Linked DNA regions of Homo sapiens: region 1 is linked to region 2. The links are contacts of gene promoters, found by promoter capture Hi-C in human tissues and cell types (Jung and others, 2019). All regions are on one chromosome and are shown on one strand. Each heading gives the region's core, a stretch centred on a gene start or on the middle of the fragment in contact. The rest is flanking DNA. Distances are from core to core; before and after follow the strand shown.

What was found. Contacts are between HindIII fragments. The study calls those that stand out against the background at their distance.
Region 1: a fragment that was not itself captured here is called in contact with the fragment with the promoter of GALNT15 in region 2 in 2 of the 25 tissues and cell types used here (adrenal gland and liver).

The regions. Positions count from the first base shown.
Region 1 is chr3:15,654,380-15,658,625 of GRCh38, forward strand. It overlaps a transcript of BTD not described here. Among named protein-coding and RNA genes, the nearest start is that of MIR3134, 41 kb to the right of the region's middle. The HindIII fragment of the contact is 7,925 bases long and covers 1-4,246 here.
Region 2 is chr3:16,172,637-16,176,712 of GRCh38, forward strand. It overlaps GALNT15 (polypeptide N-acetylgalactosaminyltransferase 15), which reads left to right and starts at 2,044. Exons shown (of 10, transcript NM_054110.5): 1 at 2,044-3,054. The coding sequence starts at 2,516. The HindIII fragment of the contact is 4,561 bases long and covers 1-3,019 here.

The DNA of each region.
Region 1 (4,246 bases), core at 26-2,525, 520 kb before region 2:
GGCTGATGACAGGTTTTCAGATGCTTCACCTCCTCCTAAGTCAGTCACACCTCATATCCAAGCCATGAGGACTCACTGAGGGGAATGTAATAAATAGCTATTTAAGGGAAAAATAACAATTAAAAAATCTATAATAGCAGTTTAAGGGACAAAAACCAAAACATTTCTTTGGAATTATTCATGTTAAGCTTAACATTTTCTAATATAGTCCTGCATCCTTTTTTTTGTTTTTGAGATGAAGTCTCACTCTGTGGCAATCTTGGCTCACTGCACCCTCTGCCTCCCGGGTTCAAGCGATTCTCCTTCCTCAGCCTCCTGAATAACTGGGATTACAGGCATCTGCCACCACACTTGGCTAATTTTTTTTTTTTTTAGATGGAATTTTGCACTTGTTGCCCAAGCTGGAGTACAATGGCATGATCTTGGCTCACTGCAACCTCTGCGTCCCGGGTTCAAGCAATTCTCCTGCCTCAGCCTCCCATGTAGCTGGGATTACAGGCATGCGCCACCATACCCGGCTAATTTTGTATTTTAGTAGAGACGGGGTTTCTTCATGTTGGTCAGGCTGGTCTCAAACTACTGACCTCAGATGATCTGCCCGCCTTGGCCTCCCAAAGTGCTGGGATTATAGGCATGAGCCACCGCGCCCGGCCTGCATCAGTTTTTAAAAGACATCAGACACGTCAAAGCCACAGGAGGAAAAGCCCCTACATTCATGCACAACAGAAAGGCTTTGTTTTCAGTAAACACGCACATCTTCAAAGAATGGTTGCAATCCAAATTGTTTAGTAACTATTAGAGGAACAAAGAAGGCTGTGTCCTCTGAATTATAATGTGCATATCCTCTAAATTGCTGCATATTAGGGGTTGAAGCATGCTGGGAGTTTGACGTATGTAAGGAAAATTATTAGGTTGATGGAATATAAAGATACTTATAATAAAAGCCAGTATTTTGGCATTTATAAATGAATCTGAAAAGGGTGAAGAACTTCATTGTTTTGCAATTAATACCACAAAATGTGGCCCTTGTGTTCTACTGGCCCCTGAAAATTGTTTCAGATCTTTCCTTGGTGCAGTGTATATTGAATAGTAAAAGGGACATATGTCACAAAACAGATTTATTCCTACAAATTTACATAAAAAATAAGAAGTGAAAAAATAAACCCAGATTTTGAATGCGCTGGCTTGGGAGCCCAGAGACCAGGCCTGGCTTGCTTTTAAATTGTTGTGTGACCTCAGCCATGTACCTGTGCCTCTCAAGGCCTAAGGTCCTCTCTCTGTAAAAGAGGGGACTACATGAGATGATTTCAGCTCAAATATCCTTGGAGACTCTCATTGTTTTCTAGTTGTAAATTATGCTTTTTCTAATAGTAAATAAGAAACGAAACAGTATTCATGTATGACAGAGAATACTTTGTTGTTTTTACTTTGTTTTGTTTTTGAGACAGAGTCTCACTCTGTTGCCCAGGCTGGAGTGCAGTGGCATGATCTCGGCTCACTGCAACCTCTGCGTCCCGGGTTCAAGCAATTCTCCTGCCTCAGCCTCCCATGTAGCTGGGATTACAGGCTCCTGCCACCATGTCTGGCTAATTTTTGTATTTTTAGTAGAGACAAGGTTTCACCATGTTGGCCAGGCTGGTCTCAAACTCCTGACCTCAAGTGATCCACCCACCTCGGCCTCCCAAAGTGCTGGGATTACAGGCATGAGCCACTGCACCCAGCCTACTTTGTTATTATTATAGATGTAAGATACAATGAATTTCTCTGAGTTTCTCTTTAAAGATTTAGCCTGCTAACTTCCTTGACCTTTGTTTTCAAACCTCAACTTTTCTGTTCCTCCTTGCCCCTAGTTATTGTAAAATAGCCTACCCCCTTCCCATCAGTTCTAATCAATACCTCACATCTGTTGCCTTGGTTACCTGCACCCATTGTTCCCCTCAAACTGCATGTCTCACACACTTCACCACTGTACCTCACGTCCCCTTCCCCTCCATATTTAGAAAAATATTTCCAAGTAGCCAGTCAGGTCAGCTCAGATTGCGCAGTCTGACCCCAGCTCATGCGGGAGGGACACAGAGGTAGGGATTGCATTAAGGATATAAAAACTGCCTGGTCTCCTTTGTTCTTTGTGCTCTTGCAATCTTGATTGACTCAAGTGGCACCCTTCTGCAGAAGTAAATTGCCTTGCTGAGAAAACTTTTGCCTGGGTGCTGGTTTTACTTTGCGGCACTGAGCACTTATTCCTAGAGCATTTTTATATCCAACATAGAATATTTTATAAAACAAAAACAAAGACTCAATTTGTAATATGAATCCTCTCCCTCCGGGCTGGAGGCTAGCCACCCCCTCCCAACTCATTCATTTGTTTAATATGTTTAGATTTTCTTAATCAGTGTTGTGATTATCTATTGCTAAGTGCATAAGTGTCACTTCATTTCATTAAGTTCCACTAACTTAAGTTTCACTAAGTTCCACTTAGTTTCTAAGTTTCAACTATGAAACGTAATGGCTTGAACAGCCATTTTATTTTGCTCATGAATTTGGGAAGGACTCAGTTATGCAGCCCACCTCTTTCTGGCCGGAGTGGTGGGGGATGGAGAACCCACTTCCAGGGTAGTTTCTCCACTCAGGTCCCTGGCACATTGACAGGGCAGCTGGAAGGCTCCTCTGGGCCTCTCCATGTGGTCTTTCAGCATGCTGGTCTGAGGATAGTCAGACTTCTAACAAGACATCTCAGGTTTCCCAGACAGGGTATTATAAGAGACAGGAAGAGGAAGCTGCCAATTTCTTAAAGCTGTGGCCAGAAACAGGCACAGTGGCACTTCTGCCATATTCTATCAGTAAAGTTGCTACAGCACCCTTCTAGATTCAAGGAGAGGAAATACAGAGCCCACTCATCAGTGGGAGGAGTGTAAAAGAATTTGTGGCTATTTAAAGTCTACCTCAAAGTAGGCTGCTGTACTGATGTCAGTTTTTATTTATTGAGTGCTTAGCAGGCATAGTAGCTCCTTGAATCTTTCCAATAACTCTGTAAGATAGATATCTTTATTAATCCCATTTTACAGATGAAGAAACTGAGACACAGAGAGGCTGAACAACTGGCTCAATGCCCCCCAGAGCTGTATGTGAGCTAGGTTTTGAACATAAGCAGTTTGTACATGGGAAATTAATGAGCTAATTAGGCTATTTATTATCATAACTTCATGTAATTATTACAGCAATGGTAAGGCACATTACAAGCACTATGCAAGTAAGTAGCCTTTCCATATTCCAGGTAAGCACCCTTCTTGGGTGGGGATGGTCCCAGCTGCTTTTTTGCTGTGGGCTCAGAAGATTGTGCCTATGGGTGAGTGATGGACTGTTCGAGGGCACCTTCCACAGGAATCTTTGTCAGTTTCTCTAGGCATGAATCTTGCAAACAATATAAAAGTCTTCAAGCAACACTGAAAAAAAAAAAAGAGTACCAGAAACCCAAGATATAACAGGTTGACAAAACAGTTGGAGGGGGCCGGGCGTGGTGGCTCACCCCTGTAATCCCAGCACTTTGGGAGGCCGAGGTGGGCGGATCACTTGAGGTCAGGAGTTGGAGACCAGCCTGGCCAACGTGGTGAAAACCCATCTCTACTAAAAATACGAAAGTTAGCTGGGCATGGTGGTGCACACCTATAATCCCAGCTCCTCGGGAGGCTGATGCAGGAGAATCGCTTGAACCGGGGAGGTGGAGGTTGCATTGAGCCAAGATTGCGCCACTGCACTCCAGCCTGAGGTGACAGAGTGAGACTCCATCTAAAAAAAAAAAAAAAGAAAGAAAGAAAAAGGAAATGGAGGGAATTTCAGAGTTCAGAGAGAGAATACAAGTTACACTGGTGCTCCTGTCCACAGTGTCCTATGGACAAGTTACAGATGGCACAGCTAACAAAGCCCTGTTCTGCGTGGAACATGTGTTTCAGCCCCCTGATGGCTATTACCTGGTTAGTGAGAGAATATCTCTTTCCAGCACCTGTTAATTGAGTGACGCCATGCTGCCCCACAGGGACAATGGAACGTTTGGGTGCCATGGAAATTAGTACCAAGGCAATCTTGCCAGGCACTCGGGTATAGCCTTTGTACATGTAGCCCACTTTTATCTTGCCCAAACTTCAGACCGATTTTTTTTTTTAAACCGGATATTCAGAGTGAGTCAAACCCCTTTAATCCAAGATCCCCTAACAACACAGAGTGGAAGCTACCCTGCCCAATAGCAAGG
Region 2 (4,076 bases), core at 794-3,293:
TCTTGAATTTGGAAATGACACAGTATTCCCACCTGGCAATACACCGTGATTTGAGATTTGGAAGACACAATTCAATCCAGAAATTGCTAAGCACTGTCCACTGGGGCATTACAATGGGATTCCAGGAGAACAACCACACATAACCCACTATTTCACCTCTGACTTCATGAAAACACACGTGTATACATGCTTGTGCACGTGAGTGTGCACAGACACACCACACACACTGGAAGAAACAACTGAGTCAAAAGGTAAAACATTTTTTTCCACAAACATTTTAGCTGACATTCTAAGATCAAAATAAAGACAAAAACAATGAGCAAGTTCATTGCAGGACTTCCCCAATGGCAGTTTTCCCCCCTCCACTCTTGGTTGCAGACAGCATGGCTGCTTTACAGCCATCAGAAGAAACACTGCTCATGGTGATGGTCAGCTATCCTTCAACCTGTTCAAGCCAGAAGCCTGAAAACTGAGCATGCTGGATTCTCTTCTCCCTTCTACCTACCTCACTCCCTCAGTGATCTCAGGTCTCACGGCTTCAAACACTATCTGAGTGCTGCTGGAGTCCAGCTTTGTATATGCAGGCCAGACCTCCCCCTGACCTTCAGCTATCCTACAACTGCTGCCTTCACTTCATCTCCTCTTAGCTGTCTAGAGGACATCTCGAATGTCACATGTTCCAAATCAAGCCACTGGCATGCATTCATCTCCTTCCACCTTCTCTCCTTCCCCATCTTGGTTAATGGCAAGTCTATTCTTCCAACTACTCAGAACAAAAATTTGAACTCATCTTGACTCTTCTCTTCCTCTCACATTAGTCATTAATTCATCAGCAAATCCTATAGGTTCTTCCTTAAAGTATATCCACAAGCTGACCCCTGTCACCACCGATGCCACTTAGTGCAAGCCAAGAACCTCTTGGTTGGTCTCCCTGCTCCTGCTTTTTGCCCCCCACTGATTAGTCTCAACCCAGCAGCCAGAATGATCCAGTTAAAACCCAAGTCAGATTGTGTCTCTCCTCTAAGGGCTCCCCTCTCACTCAGAGGAAAAGCCAAAGTTCCTTCAATGCAACCAGGGGGTGTCCTGCATGGTCCTCCTGCCCCCCGCCCCCTTGCCTCTCTTATTCCACTTCCCATCAGGCTCCACCCTGCTCTCTTTGCTTCAGCCATGCCGGCTGTTCCTCAGACATGCCAGCATACTCTTGCCTTGGAACCTTCACATTTATCATTCTGTCTGCCCCGAACACTCAACCTCAAATAGCTGTGCAGCCCTCTCCTTTACACAAATGGTAACTCTTCCATGAAACCTTTCTCCACCACTCAATGTCCATTTCCAAGCCCAGCCCATGCTCCCCAGCCCCATCCCTGCTCTGCTTTTTTGCCTTCATCCTCATCACTATCTGACCCAGTGGATAGTTTTAATTGTATCTGTCACTAGAATGCAAGCTCCATGAGACACACATTTTTGTCTGTGTTATTCATTGCTCTACTTCCAGTTCCCAGAACAATTTTGGCACATAGCATGTGTTCATTAATTATGTGTTGGTTAAATGAAGGAAGCTTTATGAGGGAAAGAGCATGCCACTCCTCTTCCAGCGTCCCCCTTGGTGGCCAGGGCAGAGCAGGCATTCAGCTGCTCTTGTGGGAGAAGAAGGGACTTGCAAGATCATCTCCCTTAGCTCCCTCATTTTCAGGAGGCCAGGGACAGTGGTCCCCAGGAAGGGAAGGAGAGTCCAACCTAGTTTGCCTGATCCCCCATGGGAGGCTGAGGTTGCAAACAGACAGCTGCAGCTCCTTGCAGCTATGCCACACACACAGCCTTTCTGAATCAGAGGGTATTAGTCTTTCCTTCTGAACTCTTGGGATATTCCTGTTTTGATTTGGCTCTAGCAGTGACCACACCGAGTTGTGCAAAGCCTGGGAACAGTGAGGGCATTAGGACCAGGAGTGACGCGCACGCTTGGCTCTGGGTTGTGTCTGGCAGAGGGCTCTCGGCTGAGTGGAGCTATGTGTGAAAGGAAACCAGGCACTGCCTGCCGGCTTTACATCTGTTGATCTGACCTGACTGGAAGCGTCCAAAGAGGGACGGCTGTCAGCCCTGCTTGACTGAGAACCCACCAGCTCATCCCAGACACCTCATAGCAACCTATTTATACAAAGGGGGAAAGAAACACCTGAGCAGAATGGAATCATTATTTTTTTCCCAAGGAGAAAACCGGGGTAAAGGGAGGGAAGCAATTCAATTTGAAGTCCCTGTGAATGGGCTTTCAGAAGGCAATTAAAGAAATCCACTCAGAGAGGACTTGGGGTGAAACTTGGGTCCTGTGGTTTTCTGATTGTAAGTGGAAGCAGGTCTTGCACACGCTGTTGGCAAATGTCAGGACCAGGTTAAGTGACTGGCAGAAAAACTTCCAGGTGGAACAAGCAACCCAGGTTCTGCTGCAAGCTTGAAGGAGCCTGGAGCGGGAGAAAGCTAACTTGAACATGACCTGTTGCATTTGGCAAGTTCTAGCAACATGCTCCTAAGGAAGCGATACAGGCACAGACCATGCAGACTCCAGTTCCTCCTGCTGCTCCTGATGCTGGGATGCGTCCTGATGATGGTGGCGATGTTGCACCCTCCCCACCACACCCTGCACCAGACTGTCACAGCCCAAGCCAGCAAGCACAGCCCTGAAGCCAGGTACCGCCTGGACTTTGGGGAATCCCAGGATTGGGTACTGGAAGCTGAGGATGAGGGTGAAGAGTACAGCCCTCTGGAGGGCCTGCCACCCTTTATCTCACTGCGGGAGGATCAGCTGCTGGTGGCCGTGGCCTTACCCCAGGCCAGAAGGAACCAGAGCCAGGGCAGGAGAGGTGGGAGCTACCGCCTCATCAAGCAGCCAAGGAGGCAGGATAAGGAAGCCCCAAAGAGGGACTGGGGGGCTGATGAGGACGGGGAGGTGTCTGAAGAAGAGGAGTTGACCCCGTTCAGCCTGGACCCACGTGGCCTCCAGGAGGCACTCAGTGCCCGCATCCCCCTCCAGAGGGCTCTGCCCGAGGTGCGGCACCCACTGTAAGTAAGGCCCTTGTTTTCCCTTCCCTGATCCCAGGGCATGATCGGGTGGTAGCAAACTCGGGAATGCAAACTTTCCGTAGCCTGCCTCTCCTGACTTAGAGCAAGTGCTTTTCAAGATGCAGTACCTGGGCCAGCAGCGTCAGCAGCCCCTGGGCACTGGTGGGTTCTCAGAAATGCAGATTCTCAGACCCCATCCCAGACCTGCCAAACAAGAAACTCTGGGTGGGGTCCAGTGGTCTGTATGAACAAGCCCTTCAGGTGAGAATCATTGTCCTAGAAAGCAGAAAGTGAGGACTCTTGCTTGTTCATTCTCTTCTCCGTCCTGGGTTCTAGTTCTTCTGTCTTTAGGTCAAATGGCTTTATTTCTATAACACAGAAGGGAGGTTAGAGCAGACATTTGCCAGTTCTAACACTCTGACTCCACTACATTTTGATTTTAGGGTTATTGTTAGTGTTTGCTTTTAGTTTGGATCAAAATAACAATTGCAGTTTACATTTAGGGGGCTCTTCCCATGCGTCTGGATTTACTTTACAAGCTTTTAATGTATTAACTCATAAAGTCCTGGAAAGTCCTCACAGCTCTGCAAGATGGGTGCTAGTAGTATCATCATGCTTATTCTATAGGTATGAAAACAAGGTGAAGTTGCTTTCCCAGTCACGCTGCTAGTAGGTAACAAAGTCAGGATTTGAATGCAGGCATGTGAGCTCCAGTCTGCCTGACCCACCACTCCATGCCACCTGCCTTGGGCCACTAGACTAAGGAAACAGGTCCAGTGCCTGAGAGCCAGAATACTGTGCTGACTGCAATTTACCCTGCCAGGGCAGCCCCAGCCCCAGGAGGTAAGCTGAGAAGTGTAGGTGATGGGCAGAGCTGTGCCCAGGGAGATGCTGGCCCATCCTCCACACCCCCTGCTCCCTTACTGTCACCATGGCTGACCACTGAGGAGGGAGCCTTGGTTACCAGCATCCAGGGAGCAAGGCAGCTTGTTAGTTTTAGTTTGGTGATTTAGGTCCCTTTT